Linked DNA regions of Homo sapiens: region 1 is linked to region 2. Evidence: promoter capture Hi-C in 16 types of primary human blood cells and fetal thymus (Javierre and others, 2016). All regions are on one chromosome and are shown on one strand. The core of a region is centred on a gene start or on the middle of the fragment in contact, and the rest is flanking DNA. Distances in the headings are between cores, read along the strand shown.

The links. The method cuts DNA at HindIII sites, captures the fragments that hold promoters and counts their contacts. A CHiCAGO score of 5 or more calls a contact.
Region 1: the fragment with the promoter of TCIM here is called in contact with the fragment with the promoter of ZMAT4 in region 2 in 4 of 17 cell types (M0 macrophages, erythroblasts, M2 macrophages and 1 more); the score reaches 13.9 in M0 macrophages.

The regions. Positions count from the first base shown.
Region 1 is chr8:40,151,925-40,157,625 of GRCh38, forward strand. TCIM (transcriptional and immune response regulator) reads left to right here and starts at 1,558. Exons shown (of 1, transcript NM_020130.5): 1 at 1,558-3,386. The coding sequence starts at 1,609. The coding sequence ends at 1,929. The region is part of intron 3 of LINC02866 (long intergenic non-protein coding RNA 2866); the gene reads left to right. The HindIII fragment of the contact is 684 bases long and covers 1,196-1,879 here.
Region 2 is chr8:40,894,890-40,900,475 of GRCh38, forward strand. ZMAT4 (zinc finger matrin-type 4) reads right to left here and starts at 2,937. Exons shown (of 7, transcript NM_024645.3): 1 at 2,794-2,937. The HindIII fragment of the contact is 2,974 bases long and covers 2,034-5,007 here.

The DNA.
Region 1 (5,701 bases), core at 308-2,807, 740 kb before region 2:
CTGGCTGTTCTCCATACACTCTTTGCACACTCTTTTCTTCAACCTTCTGCACTTGCTTCTCTGGCAGCACCCTTCCTACAGATATCCATATAGCTGACTGCCTCCTTCACCACCTTCAAGTCTTTGCACAATGTCTCATTACAAGAAGCTGTGCCTGAATATCCTAGGAAAATCTCAACCCTCTCCTTCCACTCCTGTACAACTCTGCTTCATTTTTACTCATAATATTCCTTACTCTGACATGATATATATTATAAATGTATGTTTCTATTGTCTATTTCCCAGTAGAACATAAACTTCATTAAGGTAAAAAAGGGATTCTTTGCATGGTTTGGTTAGGTTGGTTTTGTTTGGTTTTCTGTTTCATTTCCAATGCCTCAAAAAGTTCTGGCTAATAACACACCTTTAATAAATATTGATTAAATAAATGAGTGGATAAACGAGTAAGTGAATGAATGAATTAAAATATAAGGAGAGTCTCTAACTTAATTTCCTAGTGAGGTACCTTCCCCACGGTGTCTCCCTTTGCGCATTTTCTAGATCTTACTTGACTAGATAAAAAGAAAAACGAAAAGACCTGTCCTGCTTTCTTAAAGGACTAGAAAGCGGACCAGGCGTAAGATCCACAAAGAGAATCTCCAGGACCCTTTGAAGCTCACATTTAGCATATGACAACTCCATAGGTCAGTGAGGACACTGGCTGGCTTGAATATTGTGGAAGACAGGAAGAACACATTTATATGCTTCCAAAGAAGTTATTGCTCTATGTCTGGGTAATGCCAAAATAAATTTGAAAACAAAAGATCACCTCGTTCATTTTGGGCACTGTGCACGTAAAACACTTGATTAACTTTTCCTGCTGGCTTTTTTGATAGCTATTGTTGTGGATGTATACACAAGCCTAAGGAGATAGCCTCTACTATTCATATTATTACTACACCCAAATTACAATGGTCTTCAGTGACACTTAGCACTTGTACACAATCTCTGAAAAGTCACCGTTTCAAGCTGTGTCATGTCAGCGTTTTGTATGTAAAATCCCATCCTAGAATTGATCACACCCCAAATTATTATCCTTGATTGCTCAGCTTTCTCTCAGTAGCTCTGGAGTTGCCCCTGATATGGATGTCCAAAGGGCACTGATGTGGACTGCCAAATGTTTGCAGTGCACTTTAATTACTTCTCTGCGAACGAAAGCTTTCCTGTAGTTAGCAGAACCCCTTGTTCTAACTGTCGTTTGGGAAGATTTGAGAGTCTAAGCAACCTCGTTTATGTCTTATCTTTGCATTTTCCTGTATTCAGCTATTTTCTTAAAGGAAGGCCCAGGTCTGTATTATCCTACTGCCACATAGGAAGTAAAATGAGTACTCACAGCCTTGCGCCTAATCACTGAACACAGCTTTTAGTAATGTTTTACACAAGAACAGGATATTGGCAACTCAACTGTTAAGCCTTTCTGTGATTATTCTTCCTTGAGATCACTCTGATGTCACCAGTGTAATTTGAGCCTGGAGCTTTTGTTCACACTTTAAATAGCAGTCCCAGAATGATTTCACTACAGACTCTCTGGAAAGCCTGGGAGCTGAATTCCGGAAGATCCCCACATCGATGAAAGCAAAGCGAAGCCACCAAGCCGTCATCATGTCCACGTCGCTACGAGTCAGCCCATCCATCCATGGCTACCACTTCGACACAGCCTCTCGTAAGAAAGCCGTGGGCAACATCTTTGAAAACACAGACCAAGAATCACTAGAAAGGCTCTTCAGAAACTCTGGAGACAAGAAAGCAGAGGAGAGAGCCAAGATCATTTTTGCCATAGATCAAGATGTGGAGGAGAAAACGCGTGCCCTGATGGCCTTGAAGAAGAGGACAAAAGACAAGCTTTTCCAGTTTCTGAAACTGCGGAAATATTCCATCAAAGTTCACTGAAGAGAAGAGGATGGATAAGGACGTTATCCAAGAATGGACATTCAAAGACCAAGTGAGTTTGTGAGATTCTAACAGATGCAGCATTTTGCTGCTACCTTACAAGCTTCTCTTCTGTCAGGACTCCAGAGGCTGGAAAGGGACCGGGACTGGAAAGGGACCAGGACTGAACAGACTGGTTACAAAGACTCCAAACAATTTCATGCCCTGTGCTGTTACAGAGGAGAACAAAATGCTTTCAGCAAGGATTTGAAAACTCTTCCGTCCCTGCAGGAAAGGATTGATGCTGATAGAAGAGCCTGGACAGATGTAATGAGAACTAAAGAAAACAGATGGCTGGAGATGACATTTATCCAGGGTCACTTTGTCAGGCCCTAGGACTTAAATCGAAGTTGAACTTTTTTTTTTTTTTTTAACCAAATAGATAGGGGAAGGGAGGAGGGAGAGGGAGGACAGGGAGAGAAAATACCATGCATAAATTGTTTACTGAATTTTTATATCTGAGTGTTCAAAATATTTCCAAGCCTGAGTATTGTCTATTGGTATAGATTTTTAGAAATCAATAATTGATTATTTATTTGCACTTATTACAATGCCTGAAAAAGTGCACCACATGGATGTTAAGTAGAAATTCAAGAAAGTAAGATGTCTTCAGCAACTCAGTAAAACCTTACGCCACCTTTTGGTTTGTAAAAGGTTTTTTATACATTTCAAACAGGTTGCACAAAAGTTAAAATAATGGGGTCTTTTATAAATCCAAAGTACTGTGAAAACATTTTACATATTTTTTAAATCTTCTGACTAATGCTAAAACGTAATCTAATTAAATTTCATACAGTTACTGCAGTAAGCATTAGGAAGTGAATATGATATACAAAATAGTTTATAAAGACTCTATAGTTTCTATAATTTATTTTACTGGCAAATGTCATGCAACAATAATAAATTATTGTAAACTTTGTGGCTTTTGGTCTGTGATGCTTGGTCTCAAAGGAAAAAATAAGATGGTAAATGTTGATATTTACAAACTTTTCTAAAGATGTGTCTCTAACAATAAAAGTTAATTTTAGAGTAGTTTTATATTAATTACCAAACTTTTTCAAAACAAATTCTTACGTCAAATATCTGGGAAGTTTCTCTGTCCCAATCTTAAAATATAAAATATAGATATAGAAGTTCATAGATTGACTCCTTGGCATTTCTATTTATGTATCCATTAAGGATGAGTTTTAAAAGGCTTTCTCTTCATACTTTTGAAAAATTTCTTCTATGATTACAGTAGCTATGTACATGTGTACATCTATTTTTCCCAAGCAATATGTTTTGGGTTTAGAGTCTGAGTGATGACCAAGATTCTGTGTGTTACTACTGTTTGTTTAATAGGAACAAATATAGAAATAATATTATCTCTTTGCTTATTTCCCGTTAAAACTATAATAAAATGTTTCTAGGACAGCATACGTAAATGCCTGCTATGCTTTCCTAACAAAAATGAAATTTTTCCACAAGTTAAGCATTTTAGAAACACCTAAAGTGTTTTTCAAAATGCTGATCACAGTAAGTCAAAACAAGTGAATTACCTCACATCTGCTGGGAGGGTTACAAGTCAGGATTATAAATACTATGTTTTTAAAAAGAAAATCAAATGGCAAATTCTATTTTCAAATAGTAATTTACTCGTTCACTGAAGATAATGCAAAGCACTTTATTAAAAATGAGTTCTTTCCAAGAGAGCATTCCGGAAGATAACACATTAATATGCAAAATTGTGTGTGTGTGTGTGTGTGTGTGTGTGTGTGCATTTTTCTAAGAGGAATATTGATAATTTTCACGAGATTTGTAGAGACAGCTATAACTCCAAAAAAAGTTATAAACAGAAAAAGGGTTTGCGGAGTAGCAGGAGAATTGGAGGAAGCCTAACCCAGGCTGGGGACATACTAGACAATTCCATAGAAATTTTCCCTGTTTCATTTTCACTGTGCTGTGTTACGGGAGTATGAAAGAGAAGGCTGTAAAGAGGCCCTCGGCTCCATAACCCTACTTTCCCATCCTTATGAACTGAGCTTTCTTAATGTTCACTGCGTGTGCTAGAAATAACTTCCTTCTCCTGATAGGGCCCATCAGTGAAAATCTTTATTTTCTATTCAAAAATTGAAGCACACTTGGATGCTAAATGTAGTTCAAGAGTTAAGTGTATTATACATACTCATAACTATTTACTCTGCCACTGTTGTTTTCAATAGGGTACAAAGTATATCTTCTCCTCTTTTCACATTAGCATGTATTAAGTTGTTTTCTTGCAGTATATTACGTTATTTTCTGATTTCAAGGCTGTAACATGGGAGACAAATTAAAAAGCAATTTGGATGCACTCCACAATGGTATGGAGAATAATAACACATCCAGTAGATTATCACAAACGTGTCATCTTTACCATTCATGGAGAACAAAAGTTGGAATCAATTTAATTGCATAAGGATGATTTTTAGCTTCATAATACATTCATTACTTAATGTGAGGTGAAAATAAACATCAGTAGAACAGGGAGGATTGGTTCAGTTTAGAAATTTATGGCACAAGGATAAACAAATATATCTCAGGACATCTCACTGTAATTGAAGAAATGAAAGCAGCAAAGATTAAATAGCTCGTTAATCATATTTGTATCATGAGATCACAGTAATAACTTTCACTGAGTGTTTACTCTCAGTCAGACAATTTTCTAAGTGTTTTTTTTGTGTATTACTAATACATCACTTAATTAGTGCCATGACATAAATGCTAAGGGCATGTGCGTGTGTAATATAGTAATAAAACTGAAGCACAGAGAGGTGCAGTAACTTGGTCAATGACACGCAGCTAATAACTCCAGAAATCAAATCCAGGAACTCTGGCCTTCATTCCCAGCCACTAGACTATACCGGTTCTTTAGGAGAAACCAAGCTTCTCTTTTTCTTTTAAGTAACGATACTTCTATGTTAGTCAGTCATGAAGACAGGAAGGCCTGGCCTCTGAAGCATCACTTTTATCTGACCTGGGTATGTTTGTCTATTTATTTGTTACACGTGCTACATGGGGAAAGCGTCTTAGTTTAATAGTTTTAATTGTATCAAGGATGTGCTTAGATACAGGCTTTCAAGCCTGCAGTTAAAATAACACTTGTATTAGCATCCTGGAACACAAGGCCACACGTAAGCTTTGGGTCTTAGTTTGTTCATTGAAGGAACTCAGAAACCATGGATTCAATATTTTATTCACTCAGTTCATCCCCTGGCCCACAGCAAAGGGGGATTTGTCCAGCAGATAGGATTTTCTGAGAAAGGGGTCCAGGGTGTATGGTTGACTATATTTTTCTCATCATCGGAGGGTAACCAGGGTACGCAATTGACATTCCCTTAGAAAGTTTCATCTGCTAGTAAACTAATAATGAAGCCATGGCCTGAGGATTGCATGTTTTTTCAGAGTATTTAGTTGACCTTTCTATACTCCACATGAGGGTTTCTCAGAACAGCCTGTATGGATTCCCAGCAGAACAGATGTGGGGGGCAGGGCAGCATTTGTATCTTACCCATTCAACAAAAATACAGTAAGCACCCATATGTGGGAGCCTCCATGGCCAGAATGGATCCTGGTTCTCCATATCAGAAGAACAGGAAAGGTTTTTAAAAGGGGTATCACACGGTGAGAAGTGTGATGGGAGTTTAGACAGAATGCTCTGGAAGCATAAGGCAGGAATTATGTGTGTGTGTGTGTGCGCGCACGCGCGTGTGTTTGT
Region 2 (5,586 bases), core at 1,687-4,186:
GCTCTTCTCTGATAAAAATTTTAATATGTTTTCAGTCTTATTTCAGGGGACAATTTTCTTTAACAGAAAAATCAGCACAAAATGACAAGATCAAAGTAGGTTGGCAAAAGATTACTTACTGATATGTTTATGATGAAAAGGGATAACAGAAGGATGACAGGGATGGAGGGACAGAGGGGTAAGGAGAGGACTTTTATTTGCCAGGTAACTCACGCAGGGCTTGGAAAAGCAGAAAGACACAACCCCTTCCCACCATAGTGGTTAAAAGAGAGAGAGATCCAGTTTGGCCAATTGGGAAGAGGAGAAAACGCTGGGTCTGTGGATAGTGCTTATCCAGGGTCCTGGCCAAAGCCATCATGTTTGATGAAATGACAAGTAACACATTTAATTTCCTAGGCATTCATCGGTCCTTGCATACACAAACAGGCACGCAGCTTCACAAGGAGTTAATTAGCCTAACACCAGCAATTAGATTCTCCAAACTGGATCGCAGCAGAGGCGCTGGGTCCTGGGTTTCACACCTCACCCCATCCAAGGTGAAGCTGTAATGAGGGTGTTTTGCACTTTGTCAATTATTTTTCAGCTCCTAGGATCCTTTTTTGGTCTAAAGTTGTTATTTTAATGATCTCTGTTCCGAATGGGGAAATACAAGAAAGAGGATTGAGGAGGAGGCAGAGGGAAGGAAAGCGAGCGCTCCAGCGTGTCCCACTTGTACTTTCCAAGGCCCCCTCCGCCCCCTCCCCCCACACTGCCTCTTCCCTCTGTGCATGACTCACCCTTCAGGAGCTGTTTCAAATGCCTTACTTTTAATGTTTCCTATCACGATAGAAATCCAACAGATTGGCATCAATTAAAGGGAACCCCCAGTTTTGCAATCCTCAAACTCAAAAGCATTTTCTGGTTTCCTTACTGCCTTCATGAAAACCAAGGTGCTCTCATGCAAGATCCCCCACGTGCTGGGGGCTGCCCCTCCTGGGCTCCCTGGGGGTCACGTGCCCTGGAGAGGCCACAGAGGACGACGTCCATGACTAACCATGCCCACCGGCTGGGAAAAGTTCAGCTTCCGCTCCAGGCCCCCCAAACACAAAAAGATTATAATTGGCAGGGCTGCAAAATTGTTTTGTTTACTGTCAGATAGGAAGTACAGAAGAGAACGCTGATGGTATTTTGACACCCCCCCCAAAAAAAAAGTGGGCAGGCATTTTTTTAACCATTGTGAATAGAGTTTCAATAATCACAGTTCCCACCCAAAATAGCTGCCTACAGGAGGTGGAGGAGAATCTGTTGTGGTGGTTAAAGAAAATAAGAATTAAAAAGTGGAAGGGATTTGTGGAGCTGGAGAATCAAGACTGTCATCTGCATCTCCGTGGAAGGGTGCCCTGAGGAAGAGGTGTCACTGGAGAATCCCTCCCAGAACATGCAGTCTTGTCAGGACTGGGAATCGAACTCCCCAGCTGCGGGTTTAACGGAAATCAGAGGGATGAAAATCATCTAAACTCTTCAATGCCCCTAGGACTTGGAAGATCACCCCCAGACTATCAGCTTCAGAGTATCCCGCAGGTAGGCAGCGCAACTGGTGAAGTGCGGTGGGCACACAAGCAGAAGCTGCCTTCGCAGAAGAGGAAGAAAGTTCGAGACCAAGCACATCGCCTGCTTCCCCATGGGTCCCTGCTTCCTAGTGACTCACCTACCTAATATCTCCCTTTAGCAGAAGCCAAAGGCGGAGGAGGCAGGGGGAGAAAGGAGTTTCCCAAGGGTCTCAGAGCAAGAGAGGCCCCTGAGGTCTCGCGATTTAGAATGCTCAAGGGTGCTTCTGGGCTGAACCAGCTGCCTGCCGGGGTGAGCTGTTTTACTTCAAGAGCAGTTAGCAGAAGCAGTGTGGATGGTGACTTCAGCACCACCTCTGCCACAAATGCACCTGTGCACCAAAACAACCTGCGCACCTACACGGAGCCACCCCCTCCACCAGCCTCCACCTCCCAGAGCTGCGGGGATGCTCCGGGCCAGGCACCCCTTCTGGGGACAAGGGTGTAAGCTTCACATGGTACCAAACCGAACTCTCTATCCCGTTTTTTGGCTTTTTCTTTTTTTTTTTTTTTCAGGATACCCCAAGCCTGGAAAGTCTTCCAGAGTTTTCGGGAGCTAATTAATTATGTGATTTCCTCTCCTCTGAGAACTGTTTTGCTGGCGTGTCACCAAGTTGTCACGTAGGTGCCCACCAGGTCAAACAGAATAGACCATCCTCACCCACCCACCCCGGGGAATGTCTCCTTCCACCAAATAAAATGAACTGAGACAGGCAGGAAGGAGGCAGAAGTTTGAGGAAGGACTCCAGTTGAAGGTCACAATAGTTTGGGGAAGGCAGATCAAGGTAATACGAAGGGGACAGACCCTATAGCGGAAAACACAAACAACCAATCACGTTTCTCTCGGAACCAGCCTATCCATGATGGGTGCACCAGGAAACAGCACACCCTGGGATCCAACTTCTTTCACCCAGCACACCCGAATCTCCACCCCAGCCCTGCAGACACCCTAGCCTGAGACCAGACCTATTTAGACAGACCTGAGCGCAGCTAATTAGGAGTAGTAAACAAGCCCATTTCTTGCCAGCGCAGAAGTTTCCCAAATTGTCCGCTTGTTTTCCTCCCAACAAAAGACAGTGATTTCCCACCTTTATCACATTCCCTCCCAGAAACTTTTCTTTCTGCAATCCCTCCACCTAGGCTAAACTGCAAAGCCACTGGCAATGGAGACGCAGGCGCTGCACCCCCGGGACGCAGGCAGAGGTACCTTTTCCGCGAGGCAGAGGGGCCGCCGGTGCCCAGAGGCCAGCTGCCCTGCCGAGCAGTAGAGCGAAGCTGTGGGCTGGAGCACGCTGAGGATTACACGTTCCTGTCTCTGCGACCAGACCTTTCGGCAGCTCGGACCAACTGTGCTAGCGATGCACTTAGCAATTATCTGCTGGCTCCGACGCCCCGCCCTCTGCTCTTGCGATTGGCTCTCCAGTCCCGGGCAGGACTGCATTGGTTTCAGCCGACCTCACTCATTGCTTTGGCTCCTACTATTATCTAAGCCATCAAAGGAAATAATTCCATGTTTCATTGACAACCTGTAAGGCTCTCCTCCAGCCCAATGTGGGGGCAGGACCGGGAGGCCAGTGGAGAGAGGGGAGAGGAGTAGGAAAATGTGGGGGAGCGGGGTGGGGGAAGGAGGTGGAGGGGAGAGGAAAAGAAGGAGAAACTGTGGGGGGGTAGGAGGGTAGGAGGGAGAGAGAGAGAGAGATGGAGCTATCAAGCAATCAGATTCTTGCTCTAGCATTTTAACTTCCACAAAACAGAGCCCATAGCAACAATTTTCTGGCTTTATTTTCCCCCTAACTGGTAAATGTTGCTGAGGGCAGAGAGAATAATAACTATGGGGTGTCTGCCGGCATGAGACAGACTCTAGAAAGCCGAGCAAGGTTGAGGGCTGAAGGGATGGAGTAATGCTTTTCACAGGGCCACCCTGGAGGACATGTGAAGGACATGGCAGATTGCTTGGGGAGCATAGTAGGTGCATACCTGGAGTTTATCTATCAGTACTTTATCTCACAGTCCCCCTCATCCCCCAACCTGAGGAGACAATTTTCCTTTGCACCCTGTCCAAAGAGTCTCAGAAGAGCTATTCTTAAAATCCATAAAACTCTGGAGTTTCTCACTGTTCTCACTGGGAGGTCCAGAAAGCCGAGCATTCTAGAGTGAATGATTCTGCTGGGACCCTCACTTTGGTTTATTCTGACATGGCTTAAATTAATCGCTTAGACTTTCATCAACAACCTACGCACGTGAAGAGAGAACATACCCATCAAAGGGTGGGGACAGCTTAAACACTTTTCCTTGTTCACCAAGAAATCATAAAGTCTCACCCTAGTTAAAATGGCTTTTATCCAAAAGACAGGCAATAACAAATGCTGGCAAGGATGTGAAGAAAAGAGAATGAACCCTCCTACATTGCTGGTGAGAATGTGAATTAATGCAGCCACTATGGAGAACAGTATTGGGGTTTGTCAGAAAACTAAATATAGAGCTACCATCTGATCCAGCAATCCCACTGCTAGGTATATACCCCCAAAAAAGAAATCAGTATCTTGAAGAGATTCCTGCACTGCCATGTTTATTGCAGCTCTGTTCACAATAGACAAGATCTGGAAGCAATGTAAGTGTCCATCAACAGATAAATTAGATGAAGAAAATGTGGTACATATGCGTAGTGGAGTACTATTCAGCCATAAAAAGGAATGAGATCCTGTCATTTACAACACCATGGATGGAACTGGAGGACATTCTGTTAAATGAAATAAAACAGGCATGGAAAGACAAACTTCACATGTTTTCATTCATTTGTGAGAGCTAAAAATTAAAACAATTGAACTCATGGACAGAGAGAATAGAATGATGGTTACCAGAGGCTAGGAAGGGGCGGGGGTGGAATGGTTACTAGGTACAAAAATAGAGTTAGATAGAATGAATAGGATCTGGTATTTGACAGCACAACAGGGTTATTACAGTCAGCAAAACATATTGTACATTTTAAAATAACTGAAAGAGTACAATTGGATTGTTTGTAACAAAAGGAAATGCTAAATGCTTGAGGTGCCAGATACCCCATTTACCCTAATGTGATTATTACACATTGCATGCCTGTATCAAAATATCTCGTGTACCCCATAAATATATACACCCACTATGTTCCCATAAAATTAAAAATTTTTAAAAATTAAGAAGAAATCATAAAGCACAAATTTTGACCTTCCCCTCTCCTTAATGTATTTGTCACCATATGGAAAAGACATCACTTGGCAGCTAAATTTTCTTAACTAGGTAAAATATTTATTATTAATGTTTCTAAAATGAAAGAGCTTTTATAAATCAATAAGTACAAGACCTATAACCCAATTCAAAAATGGCAAAGGACAAAATGGGCTGAATTTTTTAAGAGAGAATTATAAAAGCGTCTTTTAAAGAAAGCTTTTAAAATATCAAATTTCAGATGATCCAGAAACTAACCCTTCAGCCTTCTTATCCTAGGATCTCCATGTCTTTGGTGAGGCTCTGGTCCCAGTCCTGCCCTGGCCTCCCCTGGGGCCTTGAATGGCTGTAGTCCTTATCTTCAGCTGCGTCCTCTGCAGCAAATGGCAGGTGCCCCACTGCCTTGTATGGTGACTTTCTATTTCATGCATACATGCCTGGCTTCCCTAAATACATTTCAAGCCCTGTAAAGACAGAGATGGTATCATGCATATTTTTATCACTCCACAGATAGCACCTAGCACTCAATAAGTGGGCTGACTACTAAAACCCAATTCAAAGCATCCAGGGTGCACAGCCCTAAGCCTCATGCGACCCTCATTCCACTGCAACTACTCTTCCAGCAGAGCAGAGTGTGGAGGGGGCCCACTCTGGAGTCCAAGAGCTAAAAATTCAGGACTAACCACTGTGAAATGCCTGTGAAATGCGGCAGCTCCAGAGTCACTCGAAGCTCTCTGTGTTCTCTCTGGAAAATGAGGCAGGTCTTCACCCAGTACCTTCCTCCTCCCTCAAGCAT